Regions from separate parts of the Homo sapiens genome. Here all the other regions are linked to region 2. Evidence: promoter capture Hi-C in 16 types of primary human blood cells and fetal thymus (Javierre and others, 2016). All regions are on one chromosome and are shown on one strand. Each heading gives the region's core, a stretch centred on a gene start or on the middle of the fragment in contact. The rest is flanking DNA. Distances are from core to core; before and after follow the strand shown. Region 1 overlaps SAMD4A (sterile alpha motif domain containing 4A). Region 2 holds the start of GMFB (glia maturation factor beta). Region 3 overlaps GCH1 (GTP cyclohydrolase 1). Region 4 overlaps GCH1 (GTP cyclohydrolase 1). Region 5 overlaps SAMD4A (sterile alpha motif domain containing 4A).

The links. The method cuts DNA at HindIII sites, captures the fragments that hold promoters and counts their contacts. A CHiCAGO score of 5 or more calls a contact.
Region 1: a contact is called between a fragment that was not itself captured here and the fragment with the promoter of GMFB in region 2, in 4 of 17 cell types (activated CD4 T cells, monocytes, naive B cells and 1 more). The highest score is 6.1, in activated CD4 T cells.
Region 3: a fragment that was not itself captured here is called in contact with the fragment with the promoter of GMFB in region 2 in 2 of 17 cell types (total B cells and monocytes); the score reaches 5.9 in total B cells.
Region 4: a contact is called between a fragment that was not itself captured here and the fragment with the promoter of GMFB in region 2, in 1 of 17 cell types (total CD8 T cells). The highest score is 7.3, in total CD8 T cells.
Region 5: a fragment that was not itself captured here is called in contact with the fragment with the promoter of GMFB in region 2 in 1 of 17 cell types (M0 macrophages); the score reaches 5.5 in M0 macrophages.

Annotation. Positions count from the first base shown.
Region 1 is chr14:54,776,834-54,781,770 of GRCh38, reverse strand. All of the region lies in intron 11 of SAMD4A (sterile alpha motif domain containing 4A), which reads right to left. Among named protein-coding and RNA genes, the nearest start is that of SAMD4A-AS1, 91 kb to the right of the region's middle. The HindIII fragment of the contact is 2,323 bases long and covers 2,096-4,418 here.
Region 2 is chr14:54,486,564-54,491,743 of GRCh38, reverse strand. GMFB (glia maturation factor beta) reads left to right here and starts at 2,764. Exons shown (of 7, transcript NM_004124.3): 1 at 2,764-2,819. The coding sequence starts at 2,817. RefSeq lists a silencer at 2,682-3,081. The HindIII fragment of the contact is 2,730 bases long and covers 674-3,403 here.
Region 3 is chr14:54,852,986-54,858,566 of GRCh38, reverse strand. All of the region lies in intron 3 of GCH1 (GTP cyclohydrolase 1), which reads left to right. Among named protein-coding and RNA genes, the nearest start is that of MIR4308, 22 kb to the left of the region's middle. The HindIII fragment of the contact is 3,391 bases long and covers 1,303-4,693 here.
Region 4 is chr14:54,896,043-54,900,966 of GRCh38, reverse strand. The region is part of intron 1 of GCH1 (GTP cyclohydrolase 1); the gene reads left to right. Among named protein-coding and RNA genes, the nearest start is that of GCH1, 4.3 kb to the left of the region's middle. RefSeq lists an enhancer at 3,056-3,556. The HindIII fragment of the contact is 3,526 bases long and covers 1-3,133 here.
Region 5 is chr14:54,792,159-54,797,398 of GRCh38, reverse strand. It overlaps SAMD4A (sterile alpha motif domain containing 4A), which reads right to left. Exons shown (of 13, transcript NM_015589.6): 13 at 4,087-5,240. Among named protein-coding and RNA genes, the nearest start is that of MIR4308, 83 kb to the left of the region's middle. The HindIII fragment of the contact is 3,264 bases long and covers 1,042-4,305 here.

The sequences.
Region 1 (4,937 bases), core at 2,008-4,507, 290 kb before region 2:
GGGCAGCTCTTGCCCCACAGACCAACATAAACCACCAGGCCAACCCTTGCTGTGGCTCCTGTTAACCCTGAGGGCCCATCTCATTTATCCCAGGCCCCTGCCCCTCGTGGCCACAGACCAGGCAGATGGAGATGTGAGTCTTCAGGAAGGCAAAAGGAAAGACCCCTCTTTAACTGAGCCTCCTCTGCTCTTTCCCAAAGGAGGCATGTTTCTTCAGCTCAGATGGCATCTCTGAGGACCAGTATTCCAGTATTCAGTAAGGATCGCTAGTTTTGGAATCCCCAAGGTCTAGGCTGACTTGAGACATTAATTGTATCTTTTCAGAAGTCCCACACGTATGGAGTAGTCCTGTGCTCAGGCCCAGGGTCAAGAAGATTCCGGAAGAGAATGCTACCCATCCCTAATGAGGTGCTGCTGCAGCATCCACCTGAGGAGCCCAAAGGGCTTGTCCTTGGCAGTAACCGTCCATCCCTGCTGGGTCTCACATGTGTGGCACCCACGGTGCAATTCTGCAGTGCTTTTTCTCCAAGGCACTGAGGGTAAGGAGCCAATTTCTTTAGGACTTTAGAATAAGAAACAGGCTGGGGCATTCCAGGAAAAATCTATAGAATCCCGTTTTGCCAATGACAGCGGAGGCAACTCTGTTGGATAACTAGAAAGGTGTGGAGTCTGGTTCACTGAGCAGCAGGGTTGCTAGGAGGAGAGAAAGCAGGGAAGACAAAAAGGGACAGAGCAGTGGGACCTGGTCTGCTGTGATGAGATGAGTAAAGAAGAAAGGAAGACAAGAGAACTAAGAAGAAAGGGGGAGGATGGTAACAAAAGGGAAAGAAACGGCACAGGCAGGGAAACAGAGGGGTGGGGCAGCAGGCAAGCTGAGGATGGCAGAGATGGCCATGGAGGGTGGCAGGAGTAATGAATAGCATCCCTGAGTTGACCATGGGAACGCACCTTTTCTCTGGTGGCCTCCTAACATTCCTAAGCCTGCAGAAGGTCAGTGCCTGTGGAGGTCCTCTGGGACCAACGCTTTCACAAAAAGTGATGGGTACAACATGGTATAAGATGATATTGTACCATCTTGCCCCAAGTTGATGCTCAGAGGCAGGAGGCTGTGGGCCCAGCTGGGTTCTTGGCTATGACAGAATTGATTTATTTATCAATCTCCCTACCCATTGTCTGCCAGTCCTGAACAGGGATGTCTGCCTTGATTTATTAGAAGACATGGAGGAAATATTTATCCAGTACTGTACTTGGGTCCCTGTTCTGGTTTCTGCCTCTGCATGGCAGCCCCTTCCACACCCCACTGGACCCAGTGCACCAATAACTCTCTATTCTTTCTAAAGGCAGTTCTCCGGAAGGAAATGAAAAATAACAGCCTGGAGCCCTGTGCTCCCAGATATATGCAGCGTGCTTATGGCAGAAGAATCCCAATTGTGAGCTGGTACTTAGAGGAGGTTTGCTGTGGTGATCAGGTAAGTCACACCATGAAATGCTGCCATGTGAGGTGCCACTGGACCCAGCTCACATCCAGCTGGTTCACAACCAAGGGTAGTTTGCATGTGGCTTTGGGCAAGGGAAGAATGAGATTTTCAGAAGGCTGTGCAGCCTACCCTTCTGAAGGTTTTCCTTTGAAGCCTGCTATGGGGTTCCCTGCCCTTTTCTGTTAGGCCCTCCAGGGGGTAAAGAACCTCCATGATCTCCTACTGTTGAGCCAGGGCCACTCCAAGATCCTCTCTGACTGGATCCCAAGGACAACTAAGCCTGGGTCAGTAGAAATTAGTTGCTTCCAAAATAAAGGATCCCTCTCCAAGCAATTTCCAAACCAGTTATCTAGTTGAGAAAACGCCCTGCCTCCATGAGGAACGTGACCATTCGCACAGGCGCCACACTTGTTTTCTGGTGAGCGTATTACACCTCGTAGTGTTTCTTACTCATCACTGGCAATAGCCACCTGAAGGGTCTCCTGGCTGGTCCCAGGAAACAGCTAAAACTTGTCCATGTGAAGGTGGAGGTTGCAGTGAGCTGAGATTGCGCCACTGTACTCCAGCCTGGGTGACAGAGTGAGACTCCGTCTCGAAAAAAAAAAAAAAAAAAAGCTTGTCCATGTGGGAATAACATGAAACACCACTCCTGAGGGGCCTCCAAGTGCCCGTGAATTGTGTAGAACCAGGAACGAGGGATGAGTCCTGTAAACCCGAGCAAGGTGACTGATGAATTGATCCGCAACTTGGTGGGTTCTAGCCCTCTGTCTTCTCTGTATGAGACGTTTAAAGTCTCCCATCAGTAGAGTTATTTTAGGTTTACAGAATGAAAGCATCCTTCAAATGCATTGTAGTCTTCAAGATTTGCCCAGTTTACAATGGATTCTCTGAAGACATCTAACAGCCAGGAGGAAAACACTGCATTGTATGATAACAGTTTTCCGAGTATCTACTTTTGGGTTAGTTACACATCTCAATTTCATTTTGTGTTCACTATTACTCCTGTTCATGTACAGATGAAAGCCACTTTCTGACTTCCTGATTTTTGCTGTCCTGACATGATATTTGTAGTCTAGTTTTAACGCCTGGCCACAAGCCCCGGGAAGTCTCCATAGCGAACCAGATTGCACTGCTTTGTGTGGAAAGGCCCATCTGCAGAAGAGGCTCTGAATCCAGGAAGAGCAGAAGCGGCTCTGAATCCAGGATGAGGACCCTGACTCTATGACTCTAGGATGAGCCTTCGTCTGGACCTGCTTGGAGGTCAGAGGTGTCGTCCCTGGGTAGGAGGCTGCCTCCTTGGGAGGAAGGAAAAGTCACTACAGTGACCTGTGGCCTTGACAATGATTGGCAAGGGCTGAGGAACCTCAACCCTGTGCCCTTAAGCAGGGGCCTTCTGCAGCCTCCTTCCCCTTCAGTGAGGGATCCTGGGTCCTGGCCAGGCCCTGCCCTATCATGCCCTTTATGCATGTCCTGGAAGAGCCACCCAGCATGGTGCTGAGCGTGCTGGGCAGGACTTAGGAGTGGCTCCTGTCCAGCGTTCAATGGTTTATTTGCAATCAGGAAATTTAGAGCGGGCTTTTTCCTGTGCTTTGGCTGTTATTAAAAATGCCATGTGAGGATCTTTAAGACCTTGCTGGAAGTGGGTTTGTAATACTTGAGAGATTTTAAAAAAAACACTCAAAGCGTTCCAGAGTTTTAAGTCCAGTGTGCGAAGCATATTATTTAGAGACTTGCAGGTAACTACAGACTGCTAAAAGGGGTTGTGCCTGTGGGCTAGGAAGGGGAGGGGAGAGAGACAGTCACTTTTTGCTCACAGCACTTCTGTATTATTTGATTCTTTAACCACAGGAACAAGAGGGTTTGCATGAAGAGTGAAAATGATATTAGGTTCATAGTTGCCCTGAGCACAAGCCAGCCACTTGGCATTGCTGTGAGATAGTGGAGGGGAAACAAAGGTATAGGTGGAAGATTCTATCAACAAACCCGAAGCGCTCCGGGACAACCCAGCTTTTAGAAAGGGGACTGTCTGGACCTAGTCTTCCCAGTTAAGATGGAGAAAGCTCAGGGAAGATTCAGTATGAACAAAGAGGAAGGCTGAGAACTGGCAAAAGAGTGGCAGGAAGGGAAAAAATCAAGAAGGCCTTGAGAAGGTATACAGAATTGAAGACAGTGGTCACTCTGCTGGTGAGACTGAGGCCAGGGTGAAAGACCCATTCAAGGTGACAGATCTCCTTGTGCGCAGGACCTCTTCAAATCTTGTCCAGATTCTTTTTTATTGGGAATGGATTATACATAATTCTGCGTGAAAACAGAGGATGGGATGAAAGGACCCTGGGATAAAGCCTTCAGAACCCCCAAATTTTATCATGTTTCTTCCCAGGAAGAAAAATAGCTAAGCATATAGAAATATGTGTAATTATATTGTTATATTTTGGTGCATAAATATAGAGAAAAGGAGCTTTAAAACAAAAGTGAGCAGAGTTTTGGAAGTCAAGAAGCAATGTGAGCAGGCCTCTGCACTGGGTAGCTGTCGCTCCCCTCCCTGACATGCCGTTCCCAGCAGTGTGTCCTCCAGCGTCCTCCTCCTCCCTGACCTCCCAATTCCAGCCTACCCCCCCACCCCATCATCCTGCACCCTCCTGCCTGACTTCTACTCGGAATCCCCCATGTGGAGGAATCCCCCCAGGGAGAGTGGCCAGAGTCCAAGCTCCTCAGCTTTGGATTCAAAGTCCCCCACCATCGGCCACGACCTTTACAGCTCCCTGGGTCCACTTTCTGCTACCTCAGCCAGACCCTTTGGCCCAGCCACGGCTTCCGGGCCATGCTGTGGTATTCTGGACCTTTGCAGTCTTGCTCCTGGGTTCCTTCTGCCTGTAACTCTGCCTTCCCTCTCTCCACCCTCTGCTGTGCCCTGAAGCTCAGCTCCAACTCCAGGAAGCTTCCTTGCCTATTCCAGGCCACAGTAACACTTCTCTTCTTTAAACTCCTACAGATAGGACTTACTGGACAGAGCGTTTCTACTGTCCAGGGCATTTTCCTACAGGTACAACACATCTCCAGTTTGCCTGCCTTGGGGCAGTGGGGGTGGGGGGGGGTCCATCCAGATAGGTGCAGTGTAATTGCCTGTGTGGCTTGTTATTACTCATGGAGTCTACAAAGTCTACAAGATCACTGCCTGCATAGAGAAAGGGTTCAAGTATTCATTAGCTGTGCATAATTCCAACCACTCTGTTTTAGGAAGCATAGTGAAAGCTGAAATTGATCTGAAGTGTGCTAAGTTGCTCTTTAACCAAGTAAAGGAAAGATGGCTGGTACAACAGTCATCACTTTGCAAGAAAAGCCCAAACCAGGGGGAAGGTCTCAGCATCAACAGTTTTCTCTTTCTCTGTCTCACTCTCACTTTCTCTTTCCACACACACACACACACACACACACACTACACATGGAGCCCTCCCACCT
Region 2 (5,180 bases), core at 1,515-4,014:
GTTCCAACAAAGCCAATTTAAAAGATAATTATTCTTGCTGCACTTTATACACATAATAAGGCCAAGTATAATAAAACTAAAACTTATTTTACAAATTGGTCCTACCTTGATTCGTCTCTGATAAAAATGAGAGACTGGAGAGAGAAATATTATAATACACCTGCTGGTAGACTCTAGTCTTGTCTGTTGTGTTTGAGTATTTTTAAAATATTATTTTCTGCTGGGTGTGGTGGCTCATGCGTCTAATCCCAGCACTTTGGGAGGCTGAGGTGGGCAGATCACTAAGGTCAGGAGTTCAAGATCAACCTGGCCAACATGGTGAAACCCCTTCTCTACTAAAAATACAAAAAAAATTAGACAGGTATGGTGGCATACACCTGTAGTCCCAGCTACTTGGGAGGCTGAGGCATGAGAGTCGCTTGAACATGGGAAGTGGAGGCTGCAGTGAACTGAGATCAAGCCACTGCACTCCAGTCTGGGCGACAGAGTGAGACTCTGTCTCAAAAAATAAATAAAAATAAAATATTATTTTCTACAATTTGGATTTGATCTTAAAACCTTTCTGGGCTACAAGTCTCCAAAATAATGTTTTCAAATTTTTCTCCCATTTTTCTGACTTATACTCAATAGAATTCCTACTACCTTTTTTTCTGAGGCCCTGCAAGCTGAAGCTTATTTCTTGTGATACAAGCAAGAAGAACATGTCACATTGCCACTGCCTTCCTCCTCTGTAACTAAAGATGCTTTGAGTCTAACATCTGGATAGATTATACCAACCATTAACGTTTGTTTTTCTTCTGTTTCCATAGAAATGCCTCTTATTAAAAGTCTGTTGCCTTATATTTCAGACAACAGGAGACTATTCACTTAGATTCCAAATGGCATCTAATCTCTTCCTACAATCATTATTAAACTGAGCTTAAGCATTTTATTAGTTATCACTGGGTGCTATTTGGCTTTTAAAATAATTATTTGTTATATTCAATAGGGGTACAGTTGTTAAAGTTTATGTCTTCCAGGCTTCAACTATTCCAAGTCCCTTCAAGTCTGTAGAACAGTCGGTGAGAGATTTCCATGCCCCCCGGGGTTAAGCAGGGATGACAACCCTGTTCAGCAGGAAGTAGCTTTAGAAGATAAGATCTTTGGCCCTTTCTCCTTAAGAATAAGGAAGGTAAAATCTTATAAGGGGAAATGAAAAACAGTAGAAATGGGGCTTGGCTTCAGCTCACCCACACTAGAGCATTTTTTTCATGCATTTCCACTCATGACAAACCCACACCACTACCTTACTGCTAATAGTCCTTTTATTTAAAGAATTCCAATGACTGGCCTTAGGAGATAACCAAGGTTGAGAGTGTCCCACCTTGGAGAGGAATGTTGAACAATTGATTCACAGCCTTGTTGCCGCAAACCAGACCATTGGGTGGCCCATTACTCAAGACAACCCTGGCAAACAGATAATGCTGACCTGCATAAACTACCCCTAATTTGTTGTGCTCTTTTAGGAGAGTCAGTCAGGGAATTCTCTCATTCTCTTATGCTGCCTCCCTTATGCTCCGGCATAAGCTCCAATGAAGCCTTGCCTGGAGAAACTCTTTTGGCCTCAGGTCAATTTGCATTGAGAGACCAAGAACCCATGGTCATAACAAAATGAGGTACTGCCCCAGGCAGTTTGTTTTATTGAAGGTACCTGTTGAATCCTAGAGCCTAAACTTTACTTCTCCCAAACCACTTTCTTCATGCATTCAAAACTGGACTTGTTCCACTAAGTCTGCATCTGGTACAGAGACTTCTTGATGTTTACTTAGGCAGTGGCCCATAAGAGTGCTCATTGAAACACCAATCATCATTCATTCATACTTCAATAAATAACTTGTATGGAGAAAAGAGGCTGGGCATGGTGGCTGACGCCTGTGATCCCAGCGCTTTGGGAGGCACACAGGAAGACTGTTTGTGGCCAGGAGTTCAAGACCAGCTTGGGCAATATAGGGAGACTCTATCTCTACAAAAAAATTTAAAAATTAGCCGGGTGTGTGGTGGCACACGGCTGTAGTCCCAGCTACTGGGGAGGCTGAGGTAGGAGGATTGCTTGAACCCAGGAGTTTGAGGCTGCTGTGAGCTATAATCGTGCTACTGCATTCCAGCCTGGGCAACAGAGCGAGACGAGAGAGAGAGAGAAGAAATGTGTGTGTGTGAGAGAAGAGAGAAGAAATGTGTGTGTGTGTGAGAGAGAAGAAATGTGTGTAAGAGAGAGAGGGAAAGGGGGAGGGAGAGAGAGAGAAAGAGAGAGAGAGAGAGAGAGAGATTGATTAACCAAGTCCTGGAAGGCAGCCGTGGTCAGAAGTGGGGTTCTGGAGAGGGTGGGAGGAAAGGAGGTGTGCCTAGATTTGAGGGAGATCAAATTTGGAAGGTAGGCTGCGGTCAGTACACACATTTACCATTGAAAACATTGATGTCACCATTAACATGCTCTCAGAGCTTGAAGACTGCGAAAAAGGTCCGGAGAACTGGCATGACTTTTAAGTATGCACCTTGGGTTTGTTTCTCACTTGCAGCCAGGCAGAGCGTCCTCCTCTAGAGGGAGCAGGGAAAAGAAAAAAAAAAAAAAAAAAAAAAAAAAAAAAATCAGGCGATCGCATTCTGTCTAATTTTGAGCCGCGCCTTTTGCCGTCCGCCATCACGTGCCGGCCCGCTGAGGCCGCGTTGATAGGTGGGGGCGACTGGGCCAGGCGCCGGGGCAGGAAGGGAGGCGGCCGCCGTGCCATTCTTAAAGGCGCCCGAGTGTAGGCGACAGGCCGCTGACGGCCGGAAGGAAAATGGTGAGTTGCCGCTGGGAGGGCGGGGGCCGGAGGGCTGGGCGAGCCGGCCAGCCGGGTTTTCCCGGTTTCCGGAGCCGGCGGCGGCGGGCAGCGCCCAGGAGGGCTCGGCGGCCGCTTCCGCTCCCAGCAGCTGGCCAGTGCCCATAGCTAGAGTACTTGGCCTCTGCCGCCGCCACCACGCCTCAGGGCAGCATCTTCCAGCTGGGCCCGGGGTGGACCCGCCCAGCGGGCCATGGGACTAGGGTGCGGCCACGAGCAGGGGGGTTGGGGAGGCCCCACGCCAGGTCCTTCTGGTTGGAGGGCTTCAGCTTCTGAGCTGTAGGTTGGAGGGAAAGGGGTCTGCCCCATCGGAGGGCTCCCTCAATTCCTGCTTTCCCTGCCAGGGCCGTGGCCAGGTTCCAGGGGTTGGTGGGCCCCGAGCATCTTCCACCTGGCGGCGTTTTGGGGGAGGACTCGAATTCCGATTGAATTCTCTCGGCCTCACCTTAGCTTCTTTCTCTCTGCTCCTTTCCCTAGCTTCCTACAGAGGATTTCTCCTTATCTTTGCTTTCCTATGGCAGTTGGAAACCTTTCGACCCAAAGCTTTGGCACTGGGCCTTAAAGTAATTGTCAATAACTTTAGTTTTGTTGGTTCTGGGGGCTGTGGCTTCTGTTCTTACATGGGATGGACCCCAAGCATAAAAATAAAGTGGAAAATTAAATAAATCGCCATCAAGGATCTTTTGGATCCATCCCATTAGGTTTTAAAATATGGGTAAATTTCATTAGAAACAACAAAACACTGCTCTCTGTGACCATCCACTCAATTCTCAGCCCACTTTCATCGAATAGATCTTGTCATGGTCACTGAATCGAATGGATTCTTTTCAGTTTTCGTCTTCTCTGACCTTTTAGCTGCATTCCAGAGTGTTATACTCTCTTGTTTTTGAAGCATTCTCTTCCTTCATTCTTCCCCTTTGGCTTCTGGGATACAGAGCTCCTCCTACTTCTCCTATTGGTCCATCTGTTTCCCTTTCAGACTATTCTCCTTTCCCTGGACAATGCTCGAAGGAGTCCCAGGTTTCATCCTAATCCTTCATTTTCCATTCTGTATTCTTCATCCTAAACTATGGCTTCAGTTACCATCTATATTCAGATGACTTGTGAATTTACAGCTCAGAAGACCTTGCTTCTGAGATCCAATCCAGATCTGTATGTACTTTTTTTTCTTTGAGTCGGAGTTTCACTCTTGTGGCCCAGGCTGGAGTGCAATGGCGGGATCTCGGCCCATTGCAACCTCCGCCTCCCAGGTTCAAGCAGTTCTCCTGCCTCAGCCTCCCAAGTAGCTGGGATTACAGGCATGTGCCACCACGCCCGGCTAATTTTGTTTTTTTGTTTGTTTGTTTTGAGATGGAGTCTCGCTCTGTCGCGTTGGTTGGAGTGCAGTGGCGCGATCTCCGCTCACTGCAAGCTCCGCCTCCCTGGTTCACGCCGTTCGTTCTCCCGCCTCAGCCTCCCGAGTAGCTGGGACTACAGGCTCCCGCCACCACACCCGGCTAATTTTGTTTTTGTATTTTTAGTACAGACGGGGTTTCACCGTGTTAGCCAGGATGGTCTCGATCTCCTGACCTCGTGATCCACCTGCCTCGGCCTCCCAAAGTGCTGGGATTACAGGCGTGAGCCACCGCGCCCGGCCCTAATTTTGTATTTTTAGTAGAGACGGGGTTTCACCATGTTAGCCAGGATGGTCTCGATCTCCTGACCTCAAGTGATCCACCTGCCCCGGCCTCCCAAAGTGTTGAGATTACAGACGTGAGCTACCGCGCCTGACCCCAGATCTATATATTAATATTTCAATATTTAGTTACCATTCCCCTGGGAAGCTTTTCCTCCACTTGGTCTCCTCAAAGCCACCTCAGTTTGTCCAAAGTAGAACTCATGCCCTTTCTCCTCAAACCTAGTCTTCTGTCTGTTATACAAGACAATCTGTTATACCAGCCAGAAGCCTAGTATATCTGGTAACCCTTTTTTTTGCTTACTCACACCCCACCCCCACCCCCAATATCCAATCTGTCACCACCTCCTTTGTAGTGGTTAAGAGAGTGAGTTAAGATAGGCTGCCTGGGTTGAATCCTGGCTCCACTAGCTATGTAATTGGGGAAAGATACTTAACCTCTCTAAACCTTAGTTTCTTGCAAAATGGGAGTAATAATAGTATCTGTTTCGTGAGATTGTTTTGAACATAAAAGGAAATCTATGTAAAGGATATAACAGTGTTTCTCTCATAGGGTCTGATACATGTTAACTATTATTAGGACTAAATGGGAATTTTTTGCTATTGAGTTGTTTGAGATCCTTGTATATTCTGATTATTAATCCTTT
Region 3 (5,581 bases), core at 1,749-4,248, 370 kb before region 2:
CACTTGTAATCCCAGCACTTTGGGAGGCTGAGGCGGGCGGATCACTTGAGGTCAGGAGTTTGAGACCAGCCTCACCAACATGGTGAAACCCCATCTCTACTAAAAATACAAAGATTAGCTGGGCGTGGTGGCGCACACCTGTAATCCCAGCTAATCAGGAGGCTGAGGCAGGAGAATTACTTGAACCCGGGAGGCAGAGCTTGCAGTGAGCCGAGATTGTGCCATTGCACTCCAGCCTGGGCGATGGAGTAAGACCCTATCTCAAAAAAATAAAAATAAAAGAAGAGGAATAAATGAGTCTCTGTGACCAGTTGACTGTGCTGTGGCTCTGATGTGTTCCTGTTTCTTTATGCAGGCCCTGGGATTTAACACAGTTGTGAAATGGTGGTCCTGATATTTCTCAATTCTGTGTTGGAATCTGTAAAAAAAAAACTACTCCAGCAATCTGACAACTGCCCTCTAAAGTTGTTCCTGTTACTTTGTTTTCACTTCCACTTTCTCATTCATTTCCTCTGGGGATCAATAAGAAAGTGGGTAGAAGAGACAAATTTAACTTCCCCAGTTTCTGACCTCATTCCTGCTCAGCTATTTTGCTATTAGATAGGGCTGCTTGGCACCATGAAAGAATATTATATCATAGCTGTAATTGCTTCACTGGAATAAGGCTCTTAGCACAAATCCAGAAACATTCTGGCTGCTTGCGTGTGATCCATCCCTGGTGGCAGTGCTGAAAAGTTGCTGAGAAAAAGTGTGTTGGTAGTGATTGGGAGTAATTAATCTTACTATAATTTTTATTAACGACTCCCTTCCCAGTAACTTACCCTCAACTAATGATGTATTAAACCAATTTCATGTCAACTGTGAGTAAAAGTATCTTTACTAAAATTGGTTATTCTTATGGTTTTATAATATACAGTCTAAGTAAAATCAGCATGCTTACTGTGCAAACATAGCTGTAGGCCCAGTCCCCTGGGCCTCCCTGTCAGCAAGATTGCTAACCCTATACCTTGCCCATATAGAAATTCCAGCACTGCTGATGCCTATAACAGACTGTCCATATGTGAAAGGTGTAATGGATAGTTTCATAGTGTAAAAAAGCTTGGCAGATCACATTAGGCCTTGGTCTTAATGTAACAGCCTTCTCTGAAAAACCAACTGTTGATCATGATTAACACTTTATGGGAAATGGACTCTTGAGTGATTCAGTGAGATCATACAATAAATGGCAACCTGGTGGTAGAAGGAAATAATCTTAGTTATTTCCTTTCCAAGTGAAAGGAAAAGATCTCAAATAATTAAGCTTTTATGAAACAATACAAAGGAGTTGATTATTAGCATGGGGATTTGTCCTTAGACTAATAGGATTAAAATTTAAGAATAAAATGGAACATGAAGCCAAAGAACCAAGTGTATGTTGCTTTCAAATATTTTGCAAAAAATTTGAATAAAGAGTCTATTAAATAGAAAAGAAGACTAAGATTTTATCCAACTACTTATTCCTTATAAGAAGTAAGAATATTTAGAGAATGAAGAGGAATAAAAGCTGAATGTCTTAGCAAAACTTCACTGCTCATTTTAATCTTATATATGAAGTTTGTTATATGCTTGCCTTTAAATGAATGACCTTTCAGTGCCAGTGAAGTCAAATATCAAGCAGTAAAGCCTTAAGTAACAAGAAAATGCCAGAAGTGAGTTGATCTGGCTCAACTCTAGTAGAATTCTAGAATAAACTTAGTTTGAATAGAACTTTCTTTTGTTGCTGAAAAGCCATTGAACATGTATTCATTTTCTTCCCTTAGAAATAACTGAGCCTCGGCTGGGTGAGGTGGCTCATGCCTGTAATCTCAGCACTTTGGGAGGCCGAGGTGGGCAGATCACTTGAGGTCAGGAGTTCCAGACCAGCCTGGCCAACATGGTGAAACCCCATCTCTACTAAAAATACCAAAATTAGCAGGGCATGGTAGCATGCGCCTGTAATCCCAGCTACTTCGGAGGCTGAGATGGAAGAATCGCTTGAACCTGGGAGGCGGAGGTTGCAGTGAGCCGAGATTTCACCACTGCACTCCAGTCTCGTGACAGAGCAAGACTCTGTGTCACTAAAAATAAATAAATAAATAAATAATTGAGTGAATGTACGAAATCTTGAATTTAGAGTTGTAGTATCTCAGGTAGCCATGGCTGACCTGTTGGGTGGGCACTGTGCCAGCTACTGTGGAGGCTAAAGAAGCAGGACATGGCAGCCACCCTCAAGGAGAGTGCACAGGGCAAGACTGCAAGTGCCATGGAAATGCCTGCTGTAGCTCCAAGTTCAGAGGAGCCATGATGGCTGTGGCCTGGCAGGTGAATAGACCTGGAGGTGGAGGGATGAGCAGAATTCTAAATGGGGGAGAAGTTTCTCTAGGTATAGTTAATGCATGAGCAAAGACCAGTCAGAGGGTAGGAGCAAGGCCTATTCCAGTGGATGGGAACCAGATTGACTGATGGAAGTAAGAGTAAGTGAGGTGAGTATTAGATTACAGAGGGAGCAGTATTTTTTTTTCTTTTTTGACTATAAAAGCAACATACCATTTAAATACAAATGAGTGAATAAAGTGAAAACTTTTCTTACCTATTTTCATTCCCCAGAGTTAGAACTAGAGATTTCTTTCACTATCCTTCTGGAAAATATTTATGCAAGCACAAACATAAGATCATATCTTATATTCTGTACTACAACTTGCTTTTTAAAATTTTATTTTATTTGGTGTTTTTTTGAGATGGAGTCTTGCTTTGTCGGCCAGGCTGGAGTGCAGTGGTGCGATTTTGGCTCACTGCAACCTCTGCCTCCTGGGTTCAAGTGATTCTCCTGCCTCAGCCTCCCCAGTAGCTGGGATTACTGATGTGCACCACCATGCCTGGCTAATTTTTGTATTTTCAGTAAAGACAGGGTTTCTCCATGTTGGCCAAGCTGGCCTCGAACTCCTGGCCTCAAGTGATCAGCCTGCCTTGGCCTCCCAAATGCTGGGATTACAGGCATGAGTCACTGCACCCGGCCAGCTTTTTTTTTTTTTTTTTTTTTTTTGAGACAGGGTCTTTCTCTGTCGCCCAGGCTGGAGTGCAGTGGCACTATCTGGGCTCACTGCAGCCTCCACCTCCTGGGTTCAAGCGATTCTCCTGCCTCAGCCTCCTGAGTAGCTGGGATTACAGGCGTGTACCACCACGCATAGCTAATTTTTGTATTTTTAGTAGAGATGGGGTTTCAACATGTTGGCAAGACTGGTCTTGAACTCCTAACCTCAGGTGATCTGCTCACCCCAGCCTCCCAAAGTGCTGGGATTACGGGAGTGAGCCACCGCGCCTGGCCCTGGCCAGCTTTTTAAAAATTTAAAATACCTTGAAGTTCTTTGGACATCTTTTAGTCCAAAAAGTCCAAGTTTCTTTTCATAGCTACCTAATATTTCTTTGATTAATACAATTCATTTAACCAGTATTTGCTATAGATAAGTACAGTTTGCAGTTTGAGACTTGCCAAAAAGTAAAAAAGTACCCTGGTGAACAAATTTTATTATCTTTGTGTGCTTTGAATCTATCTGAAGTTTAAATTACTAGTATGGAACTTGATGGGTAAAGGGTAGCCGAATTTTTGATATTATGAAATTGCTCTCCAAAGAGACCATGCCAGTTTATACTCTAATAAATAGATACATAGGTAAGGGGTGGTGTATGTTTCTCCACACTTCGGCCAACACACTTTTCATCACACTTTTAAATCTTTGCCAAACTGATAAGTAAAAAATAGTATCTATTTTAATTTGCATTTCCTTAATAGAGCGAGGTTGAATCTATTCAGACACTTCCTGTTCTTAGCTCCAGTATTAATTTTTCCACTGAGTTATTTGTCTTTTTATTCTTGGTTTGCACAAGCTCTGAATGTTAAAGCAGTCAGGTCAGGTGCTACAGACAATGCTTCCCAGCTCGTCATTTGTCTTTTGATTTTGCTTTATAGTATTATATTTCCATAAAGAAGTTTAAAACTTTTCTGTAGTTCACAAACTTCTTTTTTTTTTGGTACTTGTATGGCCACATTATTATATTTAAATCTTTGCTCCATCTGGAGTGTATTTTGGGGTGAGGAGTGAGGCAGAACCCATCCACTGCTGCGTGTGCTCACTGCCCGGCAGGTGCAGCACCCCCACTTCCTGCCTTCCTGCCCTCCCTGCTGCAGGTCTTTGCTGGGCCTTTCTTATCTTCCTCCTGGAGGGAATGTTAAGCTCCTGCCTCCTCCCTGCCTCTCATCTCTGAGGATCCTTCAGTTTGCCCTCATGAGCTGCTGGGATGTTCTTTCTAAAGTGTGGATTGGATCATGCTGCTCCTTTGGTGGCTCACCACAGCTTTTCAGTTAAAGTCCAAACTCCTTATTTAGAATAATTTAGAAAAAGCCAAAGAACAGAAATCACAAATCTACAAGTTGAAAATCTTGTATCATAGGTTGCTGGGGAGTCTGATATCTAGGAATGAGACGATATGTAACTAAAAATATGCTTTATAAATCTTTACATCTTGATGAATACGTTTTTTAAAAAGATGGGGAGAGAAAGGAATGGACCAAGAGTTTGAAAGCCTGCATACATTAATAACCATTAGAAAAGGTCAAATTAATGATTTGGGGGAAAGTGCCTGGACCCAGTCAGTTTTATAAGTGTTCTTTCAAGCTTTCAAGTAACCACAAATTTTGCATGTGTATAAATAATTCAAGAGCGTAGAGAAACCTGTGAAGTGTCAATTAATTTGATGAAGCTGCCTATTCTTGATAACAAAGCCTGATAAGCCTAGCATTAAAAAAAAAAAATGATAGGCAAATCTCACTGATTAATGTAGTTGTAAGAATCTTAAAATGTCAGGCTAGTATAGAAGTACTGTTTTCAACATGACCCAGGGATGTTTAGTCCAAGAATGTAAGAATGGTTTAGATTAAAACTGACAACTACTGATGCTGGGTGTGGTGAACTAGATTAATAATGCCCCTCTTGGCACAGCGTATCAAGATATAATGCATATGTACATTTTACACTTTCGGGAAAGCATGAGGCAATTCTAGTGAGAATCCACTGGAATTAGCACTAAAGCCACAGTCTGGATTCTGTCCTCCCTTTTCCCATCCCAAATCAAGGACGATACTTACCTATTAGCATTATTCTAGGAAGAGCAGGAAAAAGAAAAAGGAACTCATAGACACATTCATAAAGTTTGGGATCAGAATTAGTACTACCTGTGTGGCCTTCAAAAAATCAAATGGAATAATTTAGTTTCAAACGACCCCATAAGGCCAGGCATGGTGGATCATGCCTATAATCTCAGCACTTTGGGAGGCCAAGGCAGGTGGGTCACCTGAGGTCAGCAGTTTGAGACCAGCCTGACCAGCATGGTGAAACCCCATCTCTACTAAAAATACAAAAATTAGCTGGGCATGGTGGCACACGCCTGTAGTCCCAGCTACTCAGGAGGCTGAGGCAGGAGAATTGCTTGAACCCGGGAGGTAGAGGTTGCAGTGAGCTGAGATCGCACCATTGCACTCCAGCCTGGGCAAGAGCAAAAACTCTGT
Region 4 (4,924 bases), core at 121-2,620, 410 kb before region 2:
TTCAAAATACAAAGACTGAAAAATAAACTTTCAGTTTTCTGTGGGATCAGCTCTTTGGAGGTCTAGGGCTTTAAATTTGTGTGTGTGTGTGTGTGTGTGTGTGTGTGTGTGTGTGTGTGTGAGATATTTCACAATGTAATGAAATGTCTTCTTAAGGCCTTACTCATTTTGCCCCTTGCAGACACAGAAAGTGGTTTACTTCACAGCATCGGCCAGGCTTTGGGAATCCTCCCTTAAAGAGAATTCATAGGACAGTGTTCTGTAATCTAGCATGGATCTAATTACCCAAAGAGAGAGGAATTTCTGACCCTGAGACAGGTCACAGAATTATCTAAAGTGACTCACAGATTTACTTGAGAAATGGTTAGCTGAAATATCTCATGAGCGAAGATTCATTTAAAGAGGATTAATAACTGCAAAGAACACATCATTCCACATTAGAAAACTGTTCTGGTTGGCCGAGCTCGGTGCTCACGCCTGTAATCCCAGCACTTTGGGAGGCCGAGGTGGGCGGATCACCTGAGGTCAGGAGTTCAAGACCAGCCCGGTCAACATGGCGAAACCCCGTCTCTACTAAAGATACAAAAAAATTAGCCGGGTGTGATGGCGGGCGCCTGTAGTCCCAGCTACTCGGGAGGCTGAGGCAGGAGAATCACTTGAACCCAGGAGGAGGAGGTTGCAGTGAGCCGAGATTGCACCACTGCACTCCAGCCTGGACGACAGAGGGAGACTCTGTCTCCAGAAAAAACAAAAAAAACAAAAAAACTGTTCTGGTCAAGTTTTACTATTTAAAAAGTCCATGGGCCGGGCGCGGTGGCTCACACCTGTAATCCCAGCACTTTGGGAGGCCGAGGCGGGCGGATCACCTGAGGTCAGGAGTTCGAGACCAGCCTGGCCAACATGGGAAAACCCATTCTCTACCAAAAATACAAAAATTAGCCGGGCATGGTGTCAGGTGCCTGTAATCCCAGCTACTCAGGAAGCTGAGGTAGGAGAATCATTTGAACCCTGGAGGCGGAGGTTGCAGTGAGCCGAGATCGCACCATTACACTCCAGCCTGGGCAACAAGAACTAAACTCCATTTCAAAAAAAAAAAAAGTCCATGGATGTAGAGACACTGCAAGATTAGTAGTTGTCAGGGACTGGCGAGAAGAGGGGGATGGGTAGTGATTGTTTAATGAGTATGGAGCTTCCTTTGGAGCTTCCTTTTGGAGTCATGAAAATGTTCTGGAACTAGAGAGTGGTGATAGTTGCACAATATTGTGAATGCCACTGGATTGTAACTTCAAGATGGCTAAAAATGACCAATTTTATATATATTTTACCACAATATAAAGACAGGTTTTGTGGCGTGCCTGCAGTCCCAGCTACTAGGGAGGCTGAGGCAGGAGGATAGTTGTTGCTCAGGAGAACAGCCTGGGCAACGTGGGGAGACCCTGTTTCAGAAAAGAAAAGTCCATGGAGCGGACCATTTAAGATTATTATTATTATGTTTATTTTCATGTTTTTGAGACAGGGTTTGGCTCTGCTGCCTAGGCTGGAGTGCAGTGGCGCAATCTCGGCTCACTGCAGTCTCACTCTGCTGGACTCAAGTGATCCCACCTCAGCCTCCTGAATAGCTGGAACTACAGGCTTGTGCCACCATGCCCTGCTAATTTTTGTATTTTTGATAGAGACGGGTTTTTGCCATGTTGCCCGGGCTGGTCTTGAACTCCTGAGCTCAAGGGATCTGCCTGCCTTGGCTTCCCAGAGTGCTAGGATTACAGGTGTGAGCCACCATACCCAGCCCATTTAAGATTATTATAAGCCATTAATTGAATATAATCATGCATTACATTATGATGTTTCCTTCAATGATGGACCACATGTATGAAGGTGGTTTATAAGATTACAATGGAGCTGAAAAATTCACATTGTCTGGTGATGTCTTGGTGATCCTGACCTGTGTAGGCCTAGAGTAATGTGTTTGTTTGTGTCTTAGTTTTTTCCTCTCGTCTCCCCCATGTCTTAGTTTTTAACAAAATTTAAAAATTAAGAAAATTGGGCCAGGCATGGTGGCTCACACCTGTAATCCCAGCACTTTGGGAGGCCAAGGTGGGCGGATTACTTGAGGTTAGGAGTTAGAAAGAGACCAGCCTGGCCAACATGTTGAAACCCCATCTCTACTAAACATGTAAAAATTAGCCAGATGTGGTGGCGCATACCTGTAGTCACAGCTACTTGGAAGGCTGAGGCAGGAGAATCACTTGAACCCAGAAGGTGGAGGTTGCAGTGAGCCGAGATTGCACCAATGCACTGCAGCCTGGTTGACAGAGTGAGACTCCGTCTCAACAGTAAATAAATAAATAAAAATAAAAATTAAAATTAAAAATAGAAAAAGGTATAGAACAAGGATATAAAATATTTTTGCACAGCTGTACAATGTGTTTTTGTTTTAAGCTGTGTTATTACAAAAGAGTCAAAGTTTTAAATACATTAAGCTGAAATTATTGAAGAAAAAATATGTTTAGTGTAGCCCAAGTGTACAGTGTTTATAAAGTTTACAGTAGTGTACAGTAATGTCCTAGGCCTTCACATTCACTTACCATGCATTCACTGACTCACCCAGAGCAACTTCCAATCCTGCAAGCTCCTTTCATGGTAAGTGCCCTACACAGACATACCATCTTAAGTCTTTTCTACTATATTTTTACTGTACCTTTTCTATGTTTAGATGTCTTTCTAAAATTATTATTATTTGTATTTTAAATATAGAGGCAGGGTCTCACTGTTTTGCCCAGGCTGGTCTCGAACTCCTGGGCTCAAGTGATCCTCTCCTCTTGGTCTCCCAAAGTGCTGGGATTACAGGCATGAGCTATCCCACCTGGCCTACATATCTTTAAATACACAAATACCATTGTGTTACAGTTGCCTGCAGCATTCATTACAGTAACATGCCATACAGGTTTGTAGCCTAGGAATAATAGGCTCTACCGTGTAGCCTAGGTGTGTAATAGGCTATCTCATCTAGGTTTGTGTTAGCACTCTCTTCCTTCAGTGTTTGCGATATGAAACTGCATTTCTCAGGTGTTTCTCAGAATGTATCCCCATTGTTAAGCAATGCATGACCGTACTTTTTAATGGGTTAAAAGCTTTACGTTGGATGGTCTTGGTTCATCTTCCAGTTTTCAAGTAAACATTTCTCTTATCCCCATGACAAGGCAACTGAGGCAGAGAGGTTGACACAAGTAGTAGAGCTGGTATTTGAATCCAGAGAGTCTGACTGCAGAATTCTTAGCCACTTCCTTATACTGCTACAGAGAGAACTGAATCAGTGTACCCTATCTGTATATTTCAAACTGTGAATTGGGTCAACAGCATTAAAAAAAAAAGTGGAGTAGCCGGGCGCGGTGGCTCACGCCTGTAATCCCAGCACTTTGGGAGGCCGAGGCGGGTGGATCACCTGAGGTTGGGAGTTCGAGACCAACCTGACTAACATGGAGAAACCCCTTCTCTACTAAAAATACAAAAATTAGCCAGGTGTGGTGGTGCATGCCTGTAATCCCAGCTACTTGGGAGGCTGAAGCAGGAGAATTGCTTGAACCCAGGAGGCGGAAATTGCAGTGAGCCAAGATTGCACCATTGCACTCCAGCCTGGGCAACAAGAGCGAAACTCAGTCTCAGAAAAAAAAAGTGAGTAGAGGTTGGGCACGGGGGCTCAAGTCTGTAATCCCAGCACTTTGGGAGGCTGAGGTGGGCAAATAACGAGGTCAAGAGATCAAGAACCCCGTCTCTACTAAAAATACAAAAATTAGCTGGGTGTGGTGGTGCGTGCCTGTAGTCCCAGCTACTTGGGAGGCTGAGGCAGGAGAATCACTTGAACCCGGGAGGCGGAGGTTGCAGTGAGCCGAGATTGTGCCACTGCACTCCAGCCTGGCGACAGAGCAAGACTCCATCTCAAAAAAAAAAAAAAAAAACAAAAAGTGGAGTAGAATGGATAAGATCAGTCTATCACATATAGTAAGGACAAGTGTTTTGAGAAACTTCTTCTTTTGTTTTTTTTTTTTTTGAGATGAAGTCTCACTCTGTAGCCCAGGCTGGAGTGCAGTGGCGCGATCTGGGCTCACTGCAAGCTCGGTCTCCCGGTTCACACCATTCTCCTGCCTCAGCCTCCTGAGTAGCTGGGATTACAGGCGCCCGCTACCACACCCGGCTAATTTTTTTTTTTTGTATTTTTTTAGTAGAGATGGGGTTTCACCGTGTTAGCCAGGATGGTCTTGATCTCCTGACTTTGTGATCCGCCCGCCTCGGCCTCCCAAAGTGCTGGGATTACAGGCGTGAGCCACCGCTCCCGGCCGAGAAACTTCTATGTAGGTTTTATAGGCATAATTGTGTGTGTGTGCACTGGCTCCAGATGTAAAATGCATTTCTTACTGTAGGTTGTAGTCAAAAGTTTGAAAGCCTGTATCTAGGGGATCTGTTTAAGGATTTAATATTTCTTTTTTTTTTTTAAAGAGATATATAATTAAAGAGAAGACAGAGTAGTGAGAACAAGGATGATGCTGAACTTAAAGGAATGAACCTGAAATGTGGTGGGGTCTTGGACCAACCTGGATGGCAGGGAGAAGGAAGGATACTGGTGGGAGATAGGAGTGAGTGGGAACCCACATCTTTAGGTCCATAAACGCTTCTGCACAATCCCTTTTATTTCTTTAGAGAGCATGAGTCAAGTGGCCACTATATATTGTTTTTGGATAAGAACATACTTCTCTGAAGGTCACTTTTCTGTGCTTGTAAACAGGATACAGGACTTTATATCTTTTATATATCTGTATTCTATATATTAACTCCTGGTTAGTAATGTTGACTTAAGTGTTGTAAAATTTAAAATAAGTTGGTATTTTACATTCTTCAAAATCCATTTTTCCTCCCAGTGCCTCTTGTG
Region 5 (5,240 bases), core at 1,424-3,923, 310 kb before region 2:
GCTTGAGGCTGGGAGTTCAAGACCAGCCTGGGAATGCAGACCCTCATCTCTTTTTTTCTCTTAAAAAGGCACACACTGGGTAAACTCAGTGAACTTCAGGTGAATGAGGGCTTGGATTCTGTGTCTTACAAGAGCAAAATGGAGTTGGCTAAAAGATGAAGTAGTCCAGACCCCAGAGCACAGGAACAAGAGAAAGTGTGTAGAATGTGCTCACTGCCCTGGAATTGGATTGGCACAACTGACAATGGATGGAGGAGAATGATTCATCATATATGCATTTTCTCTCATCCACAACTTGCTGTCTTTATACTCATCCATCTTGGATGAGTAACAATCATAGGAAATCAATGTTTAGCCTCTTCTCAGTGAAGAGATCTGGGATAAATATAACAAAGCAAATTGCTGAGGTCCAGTTGGACAGATTTGATTTGGGTTTGTAGGTTCTCCTGACCTCACTTAACTGAGGCTGTTTTATGGGGCTTGGTGTGGTGACTTATACCTGTAATCCCAGCACTTTGAAAAGCTGAGGTGGGGGGCTTTCTTGAGCTCAAGAGTTGGAGACCAACCTGGGCAACATGGCAAAACCTTGTCTCTACAGAAAATAAAATTTACCCAGGTGTAATAGTGCTTGCTTGCAGTCCAAGCTACTCAGGAGGTTGAGGCGGAAGGATCACCTGAGCCTGGGGAGATTGAGGCTACTGTGAGCTGTGATTGTGCCACTGCACTCCAGCCTGGGTGACAGAGACCCTCTCAAAAATTTTTTCTGACATGGACAACCAGAAATATGTCCCAACACTGGAGAAAGCCGAGGGACACCCAGGCCTGGCTGTGGTTCCCACAGGAAGATTTAACTGGAGCTTTTTGGCAGTCCCAAGTAACAACAGCTCTGGTAGGACCATTTCACTCACCAAAGCTCCGATTTTGTTTCTCCTGGATTAGACTTAAAAAACAAAACCTCAAAAAACTGTGCAACACACTATTTAAAAACATGCACTCCAAGTCAAACGTAAACACAAAGGGATATTTTATAAAGCACAAGCTTTATAAGGTTGCCAGAACATTTCTCTGTTGGTTTCAAAAATTGAAGTAGAAACCACTTAAGAGTGAAAAATATTCCATGGAGGAAATTCTTGGACATTGAATTCCCAGGTTTACGTCACAGAGAAGTCAATGTCTGTGGACAAGAGCCCCATGGGCAAGGCAGGTTGTGGGAAGCCAGTGGGCTGGGTTGAAGTTTGGGAGGACAGTGTGCACTGTGAATAATCATTTGCTCCAATGGGGCTCCAGGCTCCTCAGTGATGACTGAGTTATAAGGCTTAAGTTTTGCCAAAGTGTCCCAATTTCCCAATCATGTCTCCCAAATGTATAGACAGAAACACACACACACACACACACACACACACACACACACACACACACACACACACATCATTCTTTGTTCTTAATCTCTAGAGGCCAGAAACCGACAGTGGGAAGTCTAAAGGCCATGGTCTAAGGGTTGCTCTGGAAACAGCGCTCTAAAAATTGACCCACTTCCAAAGACTTCCAGTTCAGGCTCTAACCTCCCACCACCAGTCCCGTTACCTCCTGGACCTTCCTCTTCTTTCCCCATGTCCCCTTTCCCAACTATTTTGCTTTCAGCTTTTAGAAATGATGAGTGAACAAATCAGTCGCCATTCTTGGGCCAACTTTGAGGCACCCCTCTGACCTGATGCGTCCCTCTCTATTGTATTGAGGGCATTCTTGGCCTGGTTAGGGGTATGTTGGTATCAGGATTTCCATCATCTCATCCTGAGAGCAGTCTCCCATACTGAATTTTGCAGGTTGCCCTCAGAACTTAGGGAGCCAGAATAGAAATACTTTATAGCAGTTGGATGAAATACTTTTGTCTGTTAAATAAGATATTGGGGGAGGGAAGTTGTGAGTTTATTTTTATTGTATTTTACAAAATAATTGGACTATGTAAATTGGAAAAAAACCAACCAGTATCACAACTGGAATTCACAGATGGTTTGAGACTCACTGGATAAGCTAGGAGGACCTAGAGCTACTGCTAAGGGTCCAGAGGCTGAAGGGCCCAGTGAAGGGGTGGCTTTCAAGTGTTAAGAGGTATGGATGGAAAATAGCAAACGTGGAAGTGCTTACAGAAGCCTGTGGAATGACATCTGTGAGACTGGTGCTGGGGTGCACTATGGGGGAAAATGGCAAAGTGTGGGCTGCCACAATGGTGCTCTTGGGTGGGCCAGAGCCACCCTAAAGGCTCCATGTTTTCCTAGAGAAGGATTAAGCACTGGTTGTGGATGACATTTTCACTGATGAAGGCGCTGTCCCCCAACCTTCCCTACAACCACTGGGGACAGTAGGTCTTGGGCTGATTGTGAGTCAGGTCCAGTGATAGATGTAGTGACTGTCCAAGGGAACAAGAAACTTCCATCAGAGTTTGAATTCCTGGCTTGTGCTGCCTCTTTAGCTCCTGTCTGCGTTAGCACATAGAGTATGTGCAGATAAGACCCACTTCTGGACTCCCGGCTCAAATCCCCTGCAGCCTCTTCCAAACCATTGTGCTATATACATGTTCATTCCCCTCTAACAAGTGGCATTAAATCTCATTTTGGAAGGGAGGCTGTTGAGGGGCGTCCTAGCTGCTTTCCTCTATGGGTAATGTTTTCTCCAGGAATGAACATTCTATAACAAAGATCACTGGCAAAGAGCTACAGCTTTGCTGATAAAAATCACTAAGCAACCCCTCTTCAGACACCATGCTGAGCTCTTCATGGTCCCTCTCCTTTAAGCTCACAACTCTTACATTTACCCTCATTCCACGCATTTCAAAGTGAGGCTCAAATTTTCTCTTGCACACTCCTCTCTCCTTCCTTTATAATACTGCAGTCATACTAGATATAGCTCATCTGGGTTACAAGGATTCAACTTTATGAGGAATTACATTTTACATCTCAGCCTGTGAGAAATTTTGCTTCCAGGGACCAATTTCGGTTTTACATGTCAGTTGAGCAGCTGAGCCTGATCAAAAGGGAGTCACTGTGTGGTCACTGTCATAATGTCAAGCTGTGGCTGCCTCTCAGAACTCTGGGGTTGCTAGGCTATGGTGGCAGGAACCTCTCTATCATATGTTTTCTTTTGTTTTCACCTTTTATTAGAGGTTTAATTATATAAACTTTGAATATCATAAGCCAAAAAACAAACCCAAGGCTTAGAGACATAAGTAACTTGTCTAAGATCACACAGCTAGAGAATGCTTGAGCCAGAATTCAAAACCAGGTGCATCTCTCCACTCATATGCTTAACTGACACAATATTTAGAATGTATATCGTACAGGAATTAGAAATATTAGAATGAGATTCAAGCCATGGATAGGTAAGCTCCAAAGAGGCTGTTTCTTGATGCCATGATTAAGGTGTGAAATATTTCAAAGACAATGAGGGGAACAAGCTATAAACAACAATGTCTGTAAAGTTAGAGTTTGTATTTAGAAACATGCCCCTAAGTCTGGTGACAAATTTATTGGCTGTTTTGGGCACAGATCAAACTGCAAACATTTCTAAAACCCTCTCTCCATATTTTTGTTAAAAAGCAGCTCATAGCTAAAGATGTGGCATGTGCAGAATGGCCAGGTGGGAATAGTTAACAGAGATCCCATTCTGGTTTTTCCTTGAGGGGGCTATTTGACTCAGTTCTTCTTTTCTTCTTCTTGTCGTCTTTTTTTTTTTTTTTTTGAGACAGAATTTCCCTCTGTTGCCCAGGCTGGAGTACAGTGGTGCGATCTTGGCTCACTGCAACCTCTGCCTTCTAGGTTCAAGTGATTCTCCTGCCTCAGCCTCCCAAGCAGCTGAGATTACAGGCATGCACCACCATGCCTGGCTTATTTTTTTTTTTTTTTTTTGTATTTTAGTAGAGACAGGGTTTCACCATGTTGGCCAAGCTGGTCTCGAACTCTAGACCTCAAGTGACCAACCTGCCTCAGCCTCCCAAAATGTTGGGATTACAGGTATAAGCCACCACGCCAGGCCTCAGTTCTTATTTTCTATTCAATCATGTATGTTGAAAAAAAGAAAAAGACACACCAGTGTTACAAAACCTTGTATTAATCATTTCCCTTCACTTTCAATATAACGTTGATATGAAATATAGCCATGATTCTTAGTTACATGGGAGGAAATGAATAATAAATACATTGTAGCAAGTTTAAACCACAAGGGTGTTTCACTGGTAACAACATTTGAAAACTGTACACTTGCAAAGAACAGCATCTTCAAACATTAGTATATCTGTATATCAGTAAAGCTTTTACATGTAACAAACATGCTCTTTCCATATATGACAAATTTAAAAAATATGCATTGCTTGGCAACATGAACTAGGCAAAAATATTTCTTTGTTCACTAACTTTATACAGGAAAACAGGACGAAAGGCATGCATGTACAATACAGATGCCTGCACAGGGCATGCAACAAAAGAAAGCTTTTTAAAAGTCAGCTTACATTAGGCATAAATACATGAGGATTATATATTAATAAGGGAGGAAGTTTTCTGTTCGACATTATTAACATTCCTGTTTTCTTCCTATTCCTCCCAGAGGAATACACATTCACCTTTAAGTAAAGATAAAGGAATTACAAAAAAATAAAACTCACTTTGCAAACATCTCTGATGACTTGTAAAAAAAAAAAAAATCAACATTAGTGTTATCACAGCTCCATGTGCAAATTATCCTTCTGCAGGTTCTTCTTGTAACAGGCACACCTGAGCGCCTTGGTCAGGCTGCTTCCCCAGGCCCAAGCTGGAGCTGACTGCTACAGACATCTCCAGGGGACCAATGAGGCCAGGCCTGCTTTTCCTCCCCTTGCCCGCCTTCTGGTTGCATGCTTTTGCATTCAGCCCAGCTCAGCCCCCAAGCCCAGGCTCCTGGGGAATAACATCTACAACCTTGCACCGGCAGTAGCTACAAGAGGTGCAGAAGAACAAAAGATCCGGAGAAGGCTCCCATCCCGTAAAAGGCAGCCAAGGACACCTCAAAAGAAACCCTTGTTTCCCTCAGTGTCTCTTCAAACGAATGGGAGAGAGGGGGGCCCAGCTGTAGCTCCAATCCTGAGTACCAAAAAGGAACCCTCAATACACAGGATTTGAGAGCTCGGTGCAAAGAGCCGCCCGGACAGGCAGACCCAGCCACATCTATTTTGCTTGCTGGCTCTCGTTTAAAAAGTGAAAACTCAAAAGCAT